Linked DNA regions of Homo sapiens: regions 1, 2, 3, 4 and 5 are each linked to region 6. Evidence: promoter capture Hi-C in human tissues and cell types (Jung and others, 2019). All regions are on one chromosome and are shown on one strand. Each heading gives the region's core, a stretch centred on a gene start or on the middle of the fragment in contact. The rest is flanking DNA. Distances are from core to core; before and after follow the strand shown.

What was found. Contacts are between HindIII fragments. The study calls those that stand out against the background at their distance.
Region 1: a fragment that was not itself captured here is called in contact with the fragment with the promoter of NCOA6 in region 6 in 2 of the 25 tissues and cell types used here (pancreas and small bowel).
Region 2: a fragment that was not itself captured here is called in contact with the fragment with the promoter of NCOA6 in region 6 in 2 of the 25 tissues and cell types used here (IMR-90 fibroblasts and aorta).
Region 3: a fragment that was not itself captured here is called in contact with the fragment with the promoter of NCOA6 in region 6 in 2 of the 25 tissues and cell types used here (IMR-90 fibroblasts and lymphoblastoid cells).
Region 4: a fragment that was not itself captured here is called in contact with the fragment with the promoter of NCOA6 in region 6 in 2 of the 25 tissues and cell types used here (hippocampus and lymphoblastoid cells).
Region 5: a fragment that was not itself captured here is called in contact with the fragment with the promoter of NCOA6 in region 6 in 1 of the 25 tissues and cell types used here (hippocampus).

Annotation. Positions count from the first base shown.
Region 1 is chr20:35,040,854-35,044,178 of GRCh38, forward strand. All of the region lies in intron 7 of TRPC4AP (transient receptor potential cation channel subfamily C member 4 associated protein), which reads right to left. Among named protein-coding and RNA genes, the nearest start is that of TRPC4AP, 50 kb to the right of the region's middle. The HindIII fragment of the contact is 7,224 bases long and covers 1-3,325 here.
Region 2 is chr20:34,601,663-34,605,070 of GRCh38, forward strand. The region is part of intron 7 of PIGU (phosphatidylinositol glycan anchor biosynthesis class U); the gene reads right to left. Among named protein-coding and RNA genes, the nearest start is that of MAP1LC3A, 45 kb to the left of the region's middle. The HindIII fragment of the contact is 4,519 bases long and covers 1-3,408 here.
Region 3 is chr20:35,061,890-35,064,869 of GRCh38, forward strand. All of the region lies in intron 3 of TRPC4AP (transient receptor potential cation channel subfamily C member 4 associated protein), which reads right to left. Among named protein-coding and RNA genes, the nearest start is that of TRPC4AP, 29 kb to the right of the region's middle. The HindIII fragment of the contact is 7,597 bases long and covers 1-2,980 here.
Region 4 is chr20:34,992,405-34,995,828 of GRCh38, forward strand. MYH7B (myosin heavy chain 7B) reads left to right here. Exons shown (of 45, transcript NM_020884.7): 25 at 698-821; 26 at 930-1,066; 27 at 1,742-1,997; 28 at 2,932-3,174. Among named protein-coding and RNA genes, the nearest start is that of MIR499B, 3.6 kb to the left of the region's middle. The HindIII fragment of the contact is 8,137 bases long and covers 1-3,424 here.
Region 5 is chr20:34,641,372-34,644,597 of GRCh38, forward strand. PIGU (phosphatidylinositol glycan anchor biosynthesis class U) reads right to left here. Exons shown (of 12, transcript NM_080476.5): 4 at 2,793-2,855. Among named protein-coding and RNA genes, the nearest start is that of PIGU, 34 kb to the right of the region's middle. The HindIII fragment of the contact is 5,754 bases long and covers 1-3,226 here.
Region 6 is chr20:34,824,173-34,827,260 of GRCh38, forward strand. NCOA6 (nuclear receptor coactivator 6) reads right to left here and starts at 1,479. Exons shown (of 15, transcript NM_014071.5): 1 at 1,300-1,479. RefSeq lists silencers at 946-1,385, 1,396-1,585. The HindIII fragment of the contact is 14,831 bases long and covers 1-3,088 here.

The sequences.
Region 1 (3,325 bases), core at 74-2,573, 220 kb after region 6:
CTACTGCTTCTGTCTCTCTGGAGACTGCTGCCTAATACAGGGAAGTAATTAAGGTTAAATGAGGTTACAAAGTGTGGGGCCCTAAACCGAGAGGACTGGTGTCCTTCTAAGAAGAGGAAGAGACACCAGAGATCTCCGTCTCTCCTCAATGACAGAGAGGAAAATTCATATGTGGATACAATAAAAAGGTGGCCTTCTACAAGCCAGGAAGAAAGGCCTCAACCAGGAACCAATCCTGACAGCACCTTGATCTTGGACTTCTAGCCTCCAGAACTGTGAGAAAAATAAATGTCTGTTAGTTAAGCCACCTAGTCTACGGTACCTTGTTATGGCAGCTCAAGCTGACTGATACACACACCTGAGATAAAGGCATTCACTACTGGAGCGCAATTCAAGAATGATAACATTCAGAGGACTAAGACTTTCCTCATCCACTCGTGATTTAATTATGTCCACCAGCTTGGCCTTCCCAGGGCATTTGAATGGAGAAAATCGTGCGGGTAAGGGAATGGAGTAGGAATTATGGTCAGGGTTGGGAAGGGTCAGATCCTGCACAACCTCATGTGTGGAACTACAACTTTTAGGCTTTATCCCAAAAGCTACAAGCAGAATCACACATAGACTGTCTACTAGGCTAGTCACACAGATATGAAAGTGAATCTAGATTATTTTATAGAGACTTTAAGAAAAAACTCCCAAATAAAAAAACAAAAACAAAAACTGGGCTTTCCGTTCTCAGTTAATCAAAAAAGCCCAGCTGACCAGAACAGTTCATTCCTCAAGAATAATGGGTAATGCTGGTTTTACTTAAGTCAGTTTACAAATAGGCATCTGAAAGCAATCAATACTAACAGGATCAAAATCATCTGCCAGAATAGATTCCTTAAATGGGAAACTAAAAGATGAAAGTTACTTAGTGCCTCGGCATACACAGGCATCCAATACAGAACCTTTCTAGCCCTCAGTTTCCTCACATGTGCAATGGGGATACTAATCTCTATTCCACAGGGCACTTGAAGGATTAAATAAAATCACTTCTAGGTAAAGCAGTTACCCAGCGTTTGCCACATACCAGGAGCTTAGCAAATACTACCTTTTGTCAATGTATATGGAGGTGTGTACACCAGCTCTGAGGTATAATTTAGTTATAATGAAAGTCACTTTTTTTAAAATTATACTTTAAGTTCTAGGGTACATGTGCACAACGTGCAGGTTTGTTACATATGTATATATGTGCCATGTTGGAAAGTCACATATTTTTTAAAAATGTAAATTTCCTAAAATGAGAACTCCCCCAAAATCATAAAGGAGTGGGAAGAAAACCGTACACAGACCAAGGAAGACCTTGTATCTAGTGACACAGGAGGAAAAGCAAATCTAGAGAGAGAATAAACTGGGGTTGGAGTCCACAAACTTCTACCTTTACATATGACTACAACATGTAAAATTATATTCCCTAATAACCTACAAAGTATAGTTATGATCACCTCATGTTCCTAACTAAAACTAGACAATAACAGAGTGAATGGCAGGTTCATATTCAGCCTCAGGAGAGGAGGCTGCTCTGAAGCACTTGATAACTCTGCAGAGCCAGCCTGGGGAATGCACACAACTGGACTTTAGAAACAAAGAACTGTTTTCAGAGCATGATTAGGGCTACCTCTGCATGGTCATGGTTTTCTACTGCTGCTTTTTAATGATACATTTGTATAATTTTACCTTGTTTATTTGGTGTACCATAAGGTACACAGTGATAGGTTTTTGTATTAACAATATTTCCAGCCTGTTAACATTGAAAAACTAGCTTTTAAGACACAAGTTTCAGTTCAAATATGAATTATCTACACTCTTATGACCAAAATACATCTATGCCAGTTTCTCCAAAATCTGTGCAGGCAACAACATTTTAGATAGAACACAGTTCTTTTGCTACTGAACAGAAATAGGTGGGCTAGATTGGTTAGAATAGTGTTTTGTTTTTAAGTAATATATTTACACGGTTCTAAAATCAAACAATATATGAAAGTATACAGTAAGGAGTCCCACTCCCACTGCTACTACCTTCCCTTACCAGCTACTTCCTATTAATAACCACTTTATGTTTCTTGTGTACCCTTTGTTTCTTTAGGCATACCATATATGTGGGCAAACGTATGGTCTTATTCTCCCCCTGACTTAATACAAAAACTATACCATATACACACTGTTCTGTATTTTCCTCTTTATCATTAATATATCTTGGAGATTTTTCTATAGCAGTACATAGAGATCTTCATTTTTTCAAAGCTACACAATTTTCCATTATATAAATATTGAATACACTAAGCAGTCCAGTGTTAATGAACATCTGGGTTTCTAGTCTTTTGTTATTACAAATAATGTTGCAATGAATAATTTTTTTTTTTTTTTTTGAGACGGAGTCTAATTATGTCGCCCAGGCTGAAGTGCAGTGGTGCAATCTGGGCTCACAGCAACCTCTGCCTCCTGGGTTCAAGCAATTATCCTGCCTCAGCCTTCTGAGTAACTGGGACTACAGGCGTGCACCACCACACCCAGCTAATTTTTGTATTTTTAGTAGAGATGGGGTTTCGCCATGTTGGCCAGGCTGGTCTCAAACTCTGAACCTCAAGTGATCCTCCTGCCTCGGCCTCCCAAAGTGCTGGGATTACAGGCGTTAAGCCACCGTGCCTGGCCTCAGTGAATAATCTTGTACAGTAGTCCTCCCTTAGTCAAGACCCTCACAGTGGATACCTGAAATGGCAGATAGCACCAAACCCTATATATACTATGTTTTTTCTTATATACACACATAACTATGATAAAGCTTAATTTATAAATTAGGTACACTAAGAGATTAACAATAACTAATGATAAAATAGAACAATTGTAACAAGATGCTGTAATAAGAGTTATACGAATGTGGTCTCTCTCTGGAATTTTTCAGTTAATATTTTCGGATTGCAGTTGACCACGGATAACTGAAACCACAGAAAGTGAAACTGCAGACAAGAGGAGATTAGTGTCTATACATCATTATCTATAAAATGAAGGCCCAGGAGAGACTTAGTAGATCAAAAAGTATATGCATTTGTAATTCTGATAAAAAGTAGTTCTTAACTTTTTTTGTGGTTCTGAGCCCATTAACAAATCTAATGAAAGGTATGGAACTCAGTTCCCAAAATAATGAACAGATACACAAAATTTACATACTAGGAGCCTTCACATGGATCCATCTCTAGAGATATTTAAAAGGGGTGCTAGGTGTGGTGGCTCACACCTGTAATTCTAGCACTTCGGGAAGATGAGGTGGGTGGATCACTTGAGA
Region 2 (3,408 bases), core at 633-3,132, 220 kb before region 6:
TACCACTGTCTCACCAATCAGAGATTCCCAGCTCCCAAAAACTTGACTTGTGTCAATGAGCTTTCTTTCAAAGCAATACATACTATTTCTTTTTCTAATAAAACTCCTAACCTTCTGTTTGTTCTTTGGACATACCAAAGACCACCCAGTCTGTGTGTATAACTCAAATTGCAATTCTTGCTTCCCAAATAAAACATTAGAGATTTGTCTCTATATTTTATTTGACTTCAACAAGGTTCACACTGCAAATTTCCCAGTGAACAGGTGAGATTTCATCTTACCTCTTTTGCTCCACAGCAAACGCTGACTTAAAACGTGTATGTAAAATGTATGTATGGGCTGGGTATGGTGGCTCACACCTGTAATCCCAAAACTTTGGAAGGCCAAGGCGGGCAGATCACCTGAGGTCAGGAGTTTAAGACCAGCCTGGACAACATGGTGAAAACCCGTCTCCATTAAAAATACAAAAATTAGCCAGGTGTGGTGGTAGGTGCCTGTAATCCCAGCTACTTGGGAGGCTCAGGTGGGAGAATTGCTTGAACCCGGGAGGCAGAGGTTGCAGTGAGCCGAGACTGCGCCAGTGCACTCCAGCCTGGGCAACAGAGCAAGACTCCATCATAAAATGAAATGAAATAAAATAAAATATATGTATGGCTGGGTGCGGTGGCTCACATCTGTAATCCTAGCACTTTGGGAGGCCGAGGTGGGCGGATGACTTGAGGTCAGGAGTTCAAGAACAGCCTGGCCAACATAGTGAATCCCTGTCTCTACTAAAAATACAAAAGTTAGCCAGGCGTGGTGGTGGGTGCCTGTAATCCCAGCTACTTGGGAGGCTGAGGCAGGAAAATCGCTTTAACCTGGGAGGTGGAGGTTGCAGTGAGCTGAGATTGTGCCACAGCACTCCAGCCTGGGCGACACAGCAAGACTCCATCTTAAAAAACAAACAAAAAAATAAAATGTATGTATGTATGTAAGTAGAAGGGTTACAAGAATGATGCCCTAAAAACTCTATCAATTTTTTAAACCATTTTATTACAAACACAAAATGCAGGAAATTACATAGAATATAAAGCTTAATGAATGATTGTAAGGTGAACATCCTTATAACCACTACCAAGGTCGAGAGAAAGAACTTTCCAGGCATTCCCCAAGTTCCTCCATGTTCCCTGATCCAACCACAATCCCCTCCTCCCTCCAAAGTAATCACTACCCTGGCTTTGGTAATAATCACTTCCTTGCATTTCTTTATGGTTTTCCACTTACATGTGCATCCCTTTCTATAGTTTAGGTCTTGCCTATTTTTAAAATTTTTGATACAATTTTTAAGTCTCTTAATTCATAATTCCTCCACTCCAGCCTACTCCTGCCCATATCTTTTTTTTTTTTCTTGTTACAATTCATATGTTACAGAATCTGGGACATTTAACCCATATAACATCCCATAATCTGGATTTTCTAATTATGTACCTTGTTTTCAGTATTTCTTGCAAATTGCAGCTATATCCAGAGGCTTGATCAATTTTGGATTTTATCCTTTTGGCAAACTTTGGTGGTGGGTAATGTTCTTTTGTCAGGAGGCTTGGTTTTTGTTTCTGATGTCAGCAGTTATTGATGCTCAGTACCTAGACCATAAGGGGTTGTAAAATGATGCTATCCTATCATTTTGTTTTCATTTGTAAGTTGAAATAATTTTATAAAGATATATTTCTGTCACCTACTATATGGTTATCTAGTGGTACAGGAAAGGCAGGACAAATACTTATTTTTTTCCTTTATCCAGTTTTCAATACAATGAACTGATTTCTTATCAATTCTCCTAATTTAGCCAAGTAGGTTTCCTTTTTAGTAACATTATGAGTGCCTGGATTTAAATATATTTATGAGTTTTAATCTATTGCAATTCTTACCTTACTGAAACTCAAATTATCCCTCTTTGGTCAGTGGGAGCCTCTTCAAGTTAGATCCTAAGTCCTTTCAAGATGACTCCAGTAGACTTTGATAAACTTTCATGTTATCTGTTATCACAACATTCTAGGATCATCCTATACATTTCCTGCCCTAAAACCTAGAATTAGCCATTTCCCTAAGAAACCCCAGTTTCTCTAAATGGGTAAATGGTATTTCAAGATCATAATTTGGGCACTAAGAATGTTCATTCATACTGGGTTGGTCATTGTTTCTAGACCTTTTAGTGGACAGACACACACACACACACACACACACACACCACACCCCTACAGGGGACCAGGCAGGTAACAAACAAGTGAAGGTGAGAGAAATGAAACAGGGACTGTGGCAATCTGAAGAGGGTACGCTCTGCCTAAAGGGGACAGATCTTACAATTCCTCAAAAGGAGCCAGAAATAAAAAATTTCCACATGAATTTTTAAAATGCTGACTACTAATTTCAAAAAAGTCAAACACCAGGGTCAAATGAACCACATCTGTGGGGCCAGATGTGATCCAAGGGTTATGTGCACCCTCAACCTGAAAATGTTAACTCGCAGTTACAATATTCCAGGAGTCACATTGTTGCTAATATATAAAAAATATTTAGGGAAATTAAGAATTCTCAGACTGCTTCAGAAAAACCCCAGCTACATTAAGATTATCTTCCTCTCCCCAAGTCTCTACAGCACTAGGGAGAAAAGCATTTTCTGTACAGAAACCATTTCCTTTCTCAGACACGATGTGAAAGGGAAAAAGCCAGTTATCCAAATAAACTCTTAAAGGGAGTTAACCTAACAATGTTTTTACATGTAAGTTCTTGGAATCACAAGAAGAGATCCAGGAGATATATTTTGCATGACAGATATATTAGAGGAAACAAAACTGGTAGAAAACTTTATTGAAAATGCTTGATCAAGCTCTTGCCTTCATTTTTACCCATTCCAAAAAGAAACAAAGCTAACAGCACTGCTACCTCTGCCCTAGCACACACCTGGACATAGCAGAAATAACAGAAAGTGACTGGGGAAGAAAAAATAAGGTGTGAAAACTCTAAATATGGCCCCAGAGAAGGCTTGGGGAAGGACCCGTTATCAAGAAATAACTGATTGAGTTTGGCTCCTCTGGTATAAGCTACCATCACATAACCTGACCCAAGCTCCAGAAAGGATAAAAAAAAATCACAGGATTAACGTTTTCAGTTCAAAGACAAGAAAAGGTCAGACTGGATTAAAGCAAAACCAAAAGAGTACTCACGGGGTAATTTCCCCTAGTGTCTGCTACTGTCTTTGAAAGAAAATAAAGGCCTCAAACCATCCAAGGGAATCCAAGGCTTTAGGAATCCCAAGCAAAAGGAAGATGGGAACTAGAAACTTCCCAGACTGCACCATGAGCATCTCGGTAAGCCTCGCCTGGTCTCCCTCGAAGCCTTACAGCTTCAGCTTCTCGGTCCTGTGCACTC
Region 3 (2,980 bases), core at 116-2,615, 240 kb after region 6:
TCAAGAGAGTGAAAAGACAGCTACTTAATGGGGGAAAATATTTGCAAATTACAAGGAATTAGTATCCAGAAACTAATACAACTCAATAATAAAAAGACAACCCAATCAAGAAATGGAGAAAGCAGATGAACAGACATTTCTCCAAAAGTCCAATAATAAACAGATGATCAACATTAGTCATCAGGGAAATGCAAATCAAAACCACAATGAGATACCTCTTCATACCTACTACGATGGTTATAATGAAAAAGACAAATAGTAACTATTGGCAAAGATGTGGAGAAATTAGAACCTTCATACACTGCTGGTAGATATGTAAAATGGTGCAGCTGCTTCAGAAAGCAGTCTGGCAGATCCTTAAAAATTAAACAGAGTTACCAGCAACTCCACTTCTAGGTATATACCAAGGGAAATTTTTTAGTAAGACAATCTAATAGAAAATGAAAACACGTCCACCTAAAAATTTATATGCCAATGTTCATGGCAGCATTATTAATCATAGCAGATTACTAATAATAGCCAAAAGTGGGAACAACCCAAATGTCCATCAACTGATGAATGGATAAATAAGATGTGGTCTATCCATACAGTGGAATATTTCTTGACAATAAAAAGGAATGGAGTATTGATACACGTTATGACACGGATTAACCTTGAGAACATTATGTTAAGCAAAAGAAGCCAGTCACAAAAGACCACGTATTGTTATGACTCCATTTATGTGAAATGTCCAGAATAATTAAATCTATAAAGACAGAAAGTAGATTAGTGGTTGCCTAAGGATGTGGGAGGGAGGCCTTGGGAGGAAATGGGGAGTGGCTACTGAAGAATATGGTGTTTCTTTTTTGGAGTGATGAAAATGTTTTAAAATCAATTGTGGTGACAGTGGTATATAACTCTGACTATACTAAAAAACTGAATTATATCTTTTAATATATCTTTTAAATGGGTGACTTGTATGACATGAATTATATCTCAATAAAGCTATTATTTAAAACAATAAAACACCTCATGCTCAGTTATAGAAGCTAGACATAAAAAGCCACACAGTGGACGATTCTGTTGATATGAAATATCCGTAACAGGTGATATGGTTTGGCTGTGTGCCCTCACCCAAATCTCACCTTCAATTGTAATAATCCTCATGTGTCAAGGGTGGGACCAGGTGGAGGTGACTGGATCATGGAGGCAGGTCCCCCATGCTGTTCTCGTGATAACGAGGGAGTCTCATGAGATCTGATGATTTTATAAGTGTCTGGCATTTCCCCTGCTTGCACTCACTCTGTCCTGCTGCCCTGTGAAGAAGGTGCCTGCTTCTCCTTTGCCTTCTGCCATGATTGTGAGTTTCCTGAGGCCTCCCAGGCCACATGGAACTGTGAGTCAATTAAACCTCCTTCCTTTATAAACTACCCAGTCTCAGGTATTTCTTCATTGCAGCATGAGAACGGACTGACAGAACAGGCATATTATGGACATTATGGATATTTCACAACAGGCATAATACAGACATAAAATAGATTAACGGCTGCCAGAGCTGGGGAGAAGGGGAGATGGGGAGTGACTGCTAATTTGTACAAGATTTCTTTTTGGCGTGATAAAAATGTTCTGGTTATCACTGCACAATACTGATGGGTGGTTACAAGAATTAACTTTATGTAAATTATATTTCAATAAAGCTGTTATTGCTGGGGAGGCAGGGTGGCTCGTGCCTATAATCCCAGCTACTGAAGAAGGTGAGGCAGGAAGATCATTTGAGACCAGGAGTTGGAGACTGCCTAAGGAACAAAGCAAGACCCCCATATCTCTAACAAATATTAAAAAATTAGCCACGTGTGATGGCATGAACCTGTAGTCCCAGCTACTCGGGAGACTGAGGCAGGAGGATCACTAGAGCCCAGGGGTTCAAGGCTGCAGTGAGCTAGGATCGTACCACTGCACTCCAGCCTGTGACACAGTGCAACTCTATCTCTAAAATCATCCCAACAATTTTTAAAAGCTGTAATTAAAAAAAATTCTGTTAAACAAATTCTAGGTTAATATAAACAGAAAAAAATAAATGTTAGAAAGGAATACTCCCGAATCTTAACAGTGGTTGAATTTTGGTGACAAGTCCCAAGACAGTTTTTCACATTTTCCTTGACAAACACCTTTTCCTTTTAAAATGAGAAAAATTAGGACCTTTGTTTTCCAAAAAAGTCCAATTTTCACTTAAAGCATTTAAAAATTATCTATATGCTGAGAATATGACTAAGCCCATATGTTTAAAGACATTCCCTATATACGTATGTATTTTTTATTATTGTTTAAATCAAGCTAGGAGCTACCCCAGAACAAAAAGAAAAATTCTTCCTTAGCCCCTTCTAGCTATAGGCCAATACTTAGGCAGCATGTCCAAGACACCTCAAGCCAAATGAAGAAGGAAGATTCCATAGCATTTTTTAAATTAAAAAGCCAGCAGGCAAATCTTTGAGACTAGACAGTTCAGCTTGAGGGTCTGAGAAAGCCTCTGCTCATCTCAAACCAGCAACAAATCTTTAGAAAGTAATTCACATGCCATGAGATTGCTCGTGGCATGAATGTGACACTATAATTCAACATCCTGAATTAAGAGAGATGTGTTATTTTAGCTTAAAGCAGCAGATTAAAAATAAAAATCCTAAACTACTACACCACAGATTGTCAATTCTAGAGAAGCACTGGGCTCAGCTTTCTGCACATCTGTATTTATTGTTAACTGCACTTGCAGGAGGGAAAAGAAAGAAGTCTCATGACTTGAGGCAACAATGAAAACTGCCCTGAACATATGCCTGCTTTGCTTTGTATAATAGAGACCTAAGGTCATCCTCTAGAAAAGGTGAAGTAATTATTATACAGTATATAACCATTTTATAGCCTGTTTTCATCATGAATTTTCCCATATTACTATAACTTTAACATTATATTAACAACTTCATAAAATTCAACAAAATAGATAGAATAA
Region 4 (3,424 bases), core at 500-2,999, 170 kb after region 6:
AATTTTCCCCCAAATGTTTCTTCAGTGATAGGGTACAGCATGTCACCTTCTACTAATATTTTTTGCCTTTAAAAAAATTTTAAAAATAGTGCATGCCTTCTGTAAAAAGCCTCTTTAAAAACTTAATGAATGCATTTAAAATCCCCCCAAGGTTGTGTTTTTTTTTTTTTTTTTGAGACGGAGTCTTGCTCTGTCACCCAGGCTGGAGTGCAGTGGCAGGATCTTGGCTCACTGCAACCTCTGCCTTCTGAGGTTCAAGCGATTCTGCAATTCTTCTGCCTCAGCCTCCCGAGTAGCTGGGATTACAGGCGCCCGCCACCATGCCCCACTAATTTTTGTGTTTTTAGTAGAGATAGGGTTTCACCATGTTGCCCACGCTGGTCTTGAACTCCTGGGCTCAAGCAATCCACCCGCCTTGGCTTCCCAAAGTGTTGTGATTATGGGCGTGAGCCACCGCACCCAGCCAACCCCCCAGGGATTTTAAGTGGAGTGTCCCTAGTGTCCCAGTGTGGTGACGCATCCCTGGCCCCCTTGTTTGGCATGTGCCCTGCTGGAACCTCTGCACCAGCCTCGGAGAGGCCCAGGAACGAGTCCCCTGCTACCCACACGAGCCTCCTCAGTCCCTGACTTCCCCATTCTCAGTGGCCTGTGCCCCATACCCAGCCCTCTCCTGACCAGCTCTGCCCTCCTTTCCCAGGTACCGTATCCTGAACCCCAGTGCCATCCCGGATGACACCTTCATGGACAGCAGGAAGGCCACAGAGAAACTGCTGGGCTCGCTGGACTTGGATCACACCCAGTACCAGTTTGGCCACACCAAGGTCGGGGCACTGTGGGATCAGGGCTGGCCATGGCTGTGGCGGTCACACTGGGCAGGGTTCATGCGGATGGTTGGGGGTTACCCTGGCTGTCTACCTCTCCGCCCCCAGGTGTTCTTCAAGGCTGGGCTTCTAGGCGTCCTGGAAGAGCTCCGTGACCAGCGCCTGGCCAAGGTGCTGACGCTGCTGCAGGCGCGGAGCCGTGGCCGCCTCATGCGCCTTGAGTACCAGCGCCTGCTGGGAGGCAGGTGGGTGTGGGAAGGAGGCTGGGGACAGGGTGTGTCCCCTGCCTCTCAGCTCCCAGACCCACTGGCTCTCCCAACCCTAACATGCTGCCCTGTAGTCAGATCAGCCCCTGTGGCTGGTTGGGGCAAGGTTCTGTTCTGTGTCCCCCAGCCTCCATTTCCCCACCTCAAAAAACGGGGTACGGCACTTGCCTCTCCATTTCAGGACATCAGCGTGTGGCCCGGAGGGGTAGCGATGGCACCCAGTGTCTTCCAAGACTCTTGCGGGCCGGGCCCCAGGCAAGATACTTTCTCTGCATTATCCTGGTTAAAGCGCTGACGGTCCTGAGAAACAGGCGCTGTGATGGCCTCCACTCAGCAGAAGGGTGCCCGTGTCAGAGATCCAGAGCTAGCTGGCACGTCAGCCCAGGCCGCTGACTCCAGAGCCCCGTGGCTTAACAGCCCTGGTGTCTTCCGGGAATTGCAGAGGCCACCAGGACATGGGGGGCTCATGAGCCCCTTCACTGGAGGCAGGCCTGTGGGACTGTGGGCCTCCCCTCACCCTCACCTATAAAGCAGAGCTATTAGGAGCTACTCCATGAGGCTGCTGGGAAGGCAAAACAAGTGAACTGTGCTGAGTGTCACCATTTGTGACGGGCAGCACTGAGCCACCTTCACAGCTTGGCTGCCCCTCCCTAGGGATGCGCTGTTCACCATCCAGTGGAACATCCGTGCCTTCAATGCCGTCAAGAACTGGTCATGGATGAAGCTCTTTTTCAAGATGAAGCCGCTGCTGCGCTCGGCGCAGGCTGAGGAGGAGCTGGCGGCCCTGCGGGCAGAGCTGCGGGGGTTGCGAGGGGCGCTGGCTGCGGCCGAGGCCAAGCGCCAGGAACTGGAGGAGACGCACGTCAGCATCACCCAGGAGAAGAATGACCTGGCCCTGCAGCTGCAGGCTGTGAGTCAGGGTTCCCCTTGTGACCGGGCGTCCCCAGCCCCGAGTACCCCTGGCTGCTCTGAGGGATAGTACAGCGAGACCCATGGGGCTCAGGCCTTATGTCTCTCTGTTCCAAAGATGCCATGAGATGAGGCCTCCATGTCCCAGCCTCACCACCCCAAGGCCTCGTCTGGCACGTTTCCTGGCACTCTCCCCTCGTGCCACCTTGGCCTCCCGCTAAAGCAGAGGAACCCCAGCTCCCCAGCTCTCCCCTCCCTGCAATCCCTGAAACCAAACAGACCCATGCTCTCTTCTCTGGTTAAGGGCCATGGGAACCCAGGTGGCAGGTAACAGGGTGATAGCCAGAGAGCACAGATCAAAGGTCTGGAATCTCCCCAGGTCCACAGAGCAAGCTTTCCTGCCTTCGGCACATGGCTTTGTGTATCAATTGTGTGCCAGGCTCAGGCTAGTGCAGGAGGAACGTTGGTGGGAAGACAGAGATGGCCCTGTGGTCACAAAACTCACCTGCTAGTGCAGGAGACTGTGACGCAGCTGGACAGTAAGGAAATGGGGGGTAAGGATACCTGAGCCCTTCCAGGGACTGCCTCCAGGAGCCCGTCCGTGGCTGTGCAGAGGCTGCTGCTGCTCACCCTGCCCCTCGGAAGGCCTCAGCCCAACAGCGGGGCAGTGAGCAGCGGGCTTCCCTCTCAGAACCCTTGTTTGGGCCTCACTCTGGGCCGCCCCGCACTTCTAACTTTCCCCTCTTAATGCTCTGGTGTGTCCCTCTGCGCTATTGCCCTTCCATGCCCAAGAGCGAGTCAAGACATTCCTGAGTTCTCAGAGCACAGCCAAACTTTGCTACAGAGGCAGTTTCCTCTCCAGGGCCTGGCCTGGTGTCTCTCTGCTGGTTTACCTGGCCCTCCCCCAACCTGGCCCCGTTCCGTGTGCCCTCCAGGAGCAGGACAACCTGGCAGATGCCGAGGAGCGCTGCCACTTGCTGATCAAGTCCAAGGTGCAGCTGGAGGGGAAGGTGAAGGAGCTGAGTGAGCGGCTGGAGGATGAGGAGGAGGTGAACGCTGACCTGGCCGCCCGCCGGCGCAAGCTGGAGGACGAGTGCACGGAGCTCAAGAAGGACATTGATGACCTGGAGCTGACACTGGCCAAAGCTGAGAAGGAGAAGCAAGCCACTGAGAACAAGGTGTGGGCCGGGCCAGCTGTGGGGAAGGGCCCTGAGCCAGGGGCCAGCTTTGGGGCCAGGTGGCTGCAGGTCCCACCCCGGCTCTGCTAAGCCTCTGCTTTCTGGCCCTGGGCATGTCACTGCCTTTCCTGGGCCTCAGTTTCTTTATCTGTCAAGTGGGGTTAGCAGCACTTACCCCATTAGGGTAGGTGGTGATGTGTGTAATTGGCCTTTACTGAGCACACGCTCCTAGGCCTTGCACACGGTAGGT
Region 5 (3,226 bases), core at 15-2,514, 180 kb before region 6:
AAATTTACAACCCTCTAATCATATTAAGGGGACACAGGTTTTTATCATCCATTATCAAACCACCTGCAGCTCTCTTAACATAAATTCTGAGTTCCAAACAAGAAGCACCATCTCAGCAAAGGACAGACTAGACTAACATTGTTTTTGTCAAGTGAGATAGATGTAAAATGTCATGATAACCAACTGGTCACCATCAGCATTCAGTCCGCAGGCTAACAGCTGGAGAGGGGGTGGGGGTGCAGTCCCCTCTCTGCCCTATAGTTCTCCCAGATGCATCTGTGTGTAGACATAGTTTCATTACCAAGGATAAAAAGACTCAAATCCCACCAAGATTTAAATACTTCCCAGACTATGCGATATGAACCCTTCTGACAAAGGGAAGAAGATTTAGAGGAAGACATGCTGCTATCCTACCTAAATCAACAGTAGTATGTTAGTATCATCAAAATCTGCCATTTAAAATGAGTTAATTTTTGACAGAGCATACATAAAACTTCTATTCTGATGAAGAAACCTAATGTTCTAATAGTCTGAACTCTAAAAGTGGAAAAACAAAAACATTCCAAATTTTACTTCAGTCTTGGTAATAACAGAATGTCTTGGTGCACTAAAAACCAGGGTATTGACAACACCGTTTGGCTTTCTCTCTCCCTCTTTAAATCATGCAAAGAAAAAAACCCAAAAATCTCTATATATTTCCAAATAAACTCAGCAATAACAAACAAATTATTGGTGCTCTAAATTAAAGGCATCTCTCCTGTTGACATTGAAGCCTGACTTTGTTAGGCAATTAACTGAAACCTAGTTTCATTGCTTCCTCATAAACTAACCCTACCATTAAAAACTGTTTTGTTTTGAGACAGTGTTTCACTCTGTCACTCAGGCGGGAGTGCAGTGGCATGACCACAGCTCACTGCAGCCTTGACCTCCCATGCTCAAGCCATCCACCTGTCTCAGTCTCCAGAGTAGCTGGGCCTACAGGCACATACCACCACTCCTGGCTAATTTTTTAAAGAATTTTTTGTAGAGACAGGGTCCCACTATATTGCCCAGGCTGGTCTTAAGCAAAAAATTGTTTTAACTAGGGAGTGTGAGAGGTTTTTTGATGAGAATTGAGCAGGAAAAAAAAAATACATATGGCATTAGCATCTAATCAACTTTCATTAAAACACAGTTCAGTTTTACATTTTGGTTATAAAGATCTGGGTAATTGTGGTCTTAGATGAAAGCTACCAATCCTGCCTCAGCTATTCATATCTATATCACACATATATATATCTCATATATATATATATATATATATATGCACACACACATATCTCATATATATATATATATATATGCACACACACAAGTTTATTTTTTCCCTAGTCTTTTTTTTTTTTTTTTTTTTGGAGATTCACTTTCAAAAAGTTTCACTCTGTTGCCCAGGCTGGAGTACAGTGGCGCGATCTTGGCTCACTCCAATCTCCACCACCTGGGTTCAATTGATTCTTATGCCTCAGCCTCCCAAGTAGGTGGGATTACAGGTGCACACCATCACACTTGGCTAATTTTTGTATTATTGGTAGAGACTGTCTACCTACCCAACCTATTTCGGAGAAGAGAACAGTCACTGCTAATTTATATCTGAATTCCTCAGCTTATGAAACCCATGCCCAATTATTTCATCTACGGCCCTCAAGAGAATCCTGTTAAAGCATTTCATCTCAGCCCCTAAAGTTTTCAAGATATGCTCCATTAGTTTAAGATATATACTCCCTGGTCTTGGTGATACTAAGTCCCTAAAATATAGTTCTTAATTTTAGAGGAAGAGTCAAAGACCACACACCAATAACAGCTATGAACTCTTGGAAACAATGATATACACACACACACATATAATTCTCCATACCATTTCCACAGTTTTATAGGCCCATTAAGGCCAAGTTAAGAACCCTCAGTCTAGATATTTTTTAAAATCTCTCTGGGGTCTAAAATTCTAGAATTCACCAGCTTCATCTGTCACTGATGACCAGTGACACAGAAAGCACACTGCTATTTCTGGTTTCATTAGTAACAAAAGCTAAAATGAACCACAAACAGACAATGCCAATGAGATGCAGCCTTATTTCACCCCAGCCTAAATCTTCTCTCTCAGTGGCTCCCAGCCAATCAAGGAGTGTTGTAGCCATTTAACTACATGGGTAGTACACATGGTTAATCTGTTAACTTTCTCAGACCCCAGGAAAAGAAGAATGGTCCCACTATGCAATTCTCCTTGGCTATTACATATGGATTAAGACTGAAGTTTATATCAGGCATTTAATACATGTCAAATTTTCCAATTAAGATTACTTTCTGCAGGGAGACAGAAATGACATTGAGAATCCAATTTTACCTCAGATAGGCATAACAGTGACTTAAAAGCTGTATTTATCTTCCTATGCAAAAAAAAAAAAAAAAAAAAAAGACTGGTGAAAGACTAGAAGATTTTTAAGGGTCCTCATTAACGACAGGTAATATAACTGTTATTCAGCACTACTCCAGAAGTCTGAACTTGCACAGGTATGTGGATATTAATAGTTATTAATAAGCTACATAGATGAAGCTGGCCCTTCTTTATCTGTTAGTAAAGCTGTCTTGTGGGTTTGGGGTTGATCATTCCAGAGCTGGCTGAACAGGCCAGAAGTTTCACCATCACTTCCTAGCACTTTAAAGCATCTGGATCCTTAAGTATAAGATCTTTGTAATAACAAAGACCAGAAGGTTACCAAATTCCACCAGCTTTGCTCCACCCACAAACTACTTACCACAACTTTATTGAAGTCCTGGATTGCAAAATACAGGGCAATAGCAGTGAGTGCATCAGTTATCTGTCAAAAGAAAGAGAAATAATAGGAAATGGAACACAGTAAGTGTAAGAGTACTAGAGTGCTACCAGGGCTTGGAGTTTTGAGATAGTGATGGACTACCAAGTACTGGACTCTTACAATCAGGTAGAACTTCAACCCTCACTTTGACTACCCAAAGATAAGGCCCATTCAGGCAGGGTGAACTGGAAATCCCTGAGGATCAGGACCCATCTAGGTTCACTTCAGTTTAGTGGCCCATATCTGCTCTAGAATTGCAAGATACTTATGTTTTTTGTAAAATGGAAATAATACCCACTGCTTTGCATGCCTGATGTATGTCAAGTGCCTAGCACACAGTAGGTCCTCAATAAATAGAGTTTGTTATAATTACT
Region 6 (3,088 bases), core at 229-2,728:
CTTCATTTCTTGTTGTTTTTGTTTGTTTGCTTTTAGTTTCATCACAAGAATGTTATGCTTCATTTCTTAACACCTTTCTCCCAGCTAGCAAATTCCTTTAAGGCAATGTGTTTAGTGAGGAAGCAGCCGACAATTTCTAGTACCCCTCTGCCACTAACTTGTAAGATCTTGAAAAGTCAACTTTACCTTTCTATGTTTCAGCTAAAATCACTACCTGATTTGAAATCTTTACTTGATCTCTCAGGCCTTTGTAGTTTTTATACATTCACTCTTCTTCACCATTTTACTGGCTTCAATAACGCCTTTCTGATGACCTCTCCAGGTGACTCTGCTCTTAAGCTGTGGGCTGTCCCCTTCCAGGGAAGACACCTTGGGTCACCGCCCCCAAACAGCCAGGTCCCTCCTTTTAAAGACACACACAACTCCCTAAGTTGATAAAGGTTCTCTCCTTCCTTGCCAACCAGTTCCACTCTCTGTGCCTCTTTTGCTGGCCAGCTCCTGCACCCAAACCTCAGTCTCCCTTTGTCCCCCTTTTCTCTCATCAAACACCTCCTTTTTCCTGTTGCTTCCCCCAAGAGGGGGTGGAGGATGCTTGGGACATAAGTCTTCAGAGCCTTGGGAGTTATACAGCTTTGCAATTCAGCCCCAGTACCCCAAGGACTGCCCCAATCTGAACCAGCGTCTGTACCCAAAGGGCCCTCATTCCTCATCAATCACCTCCTTCCCTCCCAGCAAAGAACTGCTCCAGCCCTGACAGCCTGAGCTTGGCCCCCATGCCTCCACCCCAATCCCCAGGTCCTACCTGCATTAGGGCTCTAACACCGCCTAAGGCCTAACCCAGTTCCACGTCCTGCCATCCTCTCAGCCCATAGACCCCAATCCCGGTTCCCTTCGGACCCAGTGTTCCTTCTCCGCGACCCTGACCACGACCCCACGACCGGCTCCCGCCTGTTCCCCAGGCCTGGAGCGCCACCCCGTGCAGACCCCGGCCAGCCCTGCACTCCCTCAGTGCACCGGCCCCCGCGCCCAGCACCCTCCCCACCCAGCCCGGCCGCCGCTCCCTCCAGCGCCCCCGCCCGCAGGCCTGGGGCCCGCTCCCCAACATGGCGACGGGGACACAAGCGCGGCGGGCGGGGCGGCTCCGGGCCGGGCCCGCTCTCAGACCGTGCCACTCGGTCGCCCGGCGCCATTTTTCCGCGCGGGCCCGGGCGGCGCCTCCTCCCCGCGAAGCCAGCCCGACAAGGACCGCGGACGCCCGGCGGGCCCACCCCTTACGGGCCCGCGCCGCCGTCCCCTCACCTGAGCGCGGCCCCGGCCCTCCCGGGCGGGCCTTGGAGCGCCGGCCCGGGCCGTGCGTGCCCGCCGCCCTCGGTGCGTCCGTCCGTCAGTCCTCGCGTGCGCCCGTCTGTCCCGCCGCCCGCGCCCGGCCGCCCGCAGCCCGACCCGGCAGGGCCTCACGGAGCCGGCGGGGAGGGGGATGGGCCGGACCGGGCCGGGGAGGGAGGGGGAGGGAGGGAGAGAGGGAGGGAGCGCGAGAGGGGGCGGGGCGGACTCGAGGGGCGGGGCATTGCCCACGTGACCAGACGTCCCCGGGAGCGCGAGGTGGAGCGCGCGCCAGCTCCCTTCGGTGCTGAGTGCTTAGTGCTGGGATCTCGTGGGTCTCTGTCGGCTTTCCAGGGCTATTCTCTCGCCAGTGAGTCCCACTTCGGAAGCACACATTGCACAGTCTTTTGCGAGCGCTCTGAGTATCCTTGGACATGGCAACTCCAAGCCTCAGTTTACCCATCTGAAATATGGGGAAAATCATAGTGCTTGTGAAGAGCAAATGGAGGTGGGCTTGGAAAGCACTTGTCACCGTGCCTGACACATACTGTCTAATAATAAGCTTAATGGGATATAGATAAAAGCTTTCATTATTATTTGCCTCTAAATCCCTCTCTTCTTTTTCCCATCATTACCTCCCTAGCAAGCTAAAATGCTCAGTAAATAGAATTATTGATCGAACGAGTGTGGCCCCTCCCCTCTTCCCAAACGTAGAAAGGCCTCCTCAGCACTGGACTTCATGTCTGTCATACAGGCCTGGATTCATATCTGGCTTTCACTCTTTTTTAAAAATTTTCTGTTTTTTCCCACACTACACTGATGTATTTTTTAAATTTTCGTAAGTACGTAGTAGGTGAATATATTTATGGGGTACATGAGATTTTGATACAGGCATGCGATGTGTAATCACATCATGGTAAATGGGGTATCTAGCAACTCAAGCATTTATCCTTTGTGTTACAAATAACCCAATTATACTCTAGTTATTTTAAAATGTACAAGTAAATTTTGTGTGTGTGTGGTTTTTTTTTTGTTTTTTGTTTTATTTTTGTTTTTTTGAGACGGAGTCTCACTCCGTCGCCCAGGCTGGAGTGCAGTGGCGCGATCTCAGCTCACTGCAACTTCCGCCTCCCTGGTTCAAGGGATTCGCCTGCCTCAGCCTCCTGAGTAGCTGGTACTACAGGCGCATGCCACCACGCCCAGCTAATTTTTGTATATTTTTTAAGTAGAGATGGGGTTTCACCATATTGGCCGGGCTGGTCAGGAACTCCTGACCTCATGATCCGCCCGCCTCTGCCCCTCAAAGTGCTGGGATTATAGGCGTGAGCCACCGCGCCCGGCCAATTGTTTTTTACTGTAGTCACCTTCTTGTGCTAGCAAATACTAGGTCTTATTCTTTCTAACTATTCTTTTGTACCCGTTAATCATTCCCACTTCCCACCTACCTCCCCATTAATCTTACCAGCCTCTGGTAACCCTCCTTCTATTCTCTATCTCCATGAGTTCAATTGTTTTAATTTTTCGCTCCTGGCCCGGCATGGTGGCTCACGCCTGTAATCCTAGCACTTTGGGAGGCCAAGATGGGCGGATCACCTGAGGTCAGGAGTTCAAGACCAGCCTGGCCAACATGGTGAAACCCTGTCTCTACTAAAATACAAAAGCTAGGTGGGCATGATGGCGGGTGCCTGTAATCCCAGCTACTCAGGAGGCTGAGACGGGAGAATCTCTTGAACCTGGGAGATGGTGGTTGCGGTGAGCCTAGCTC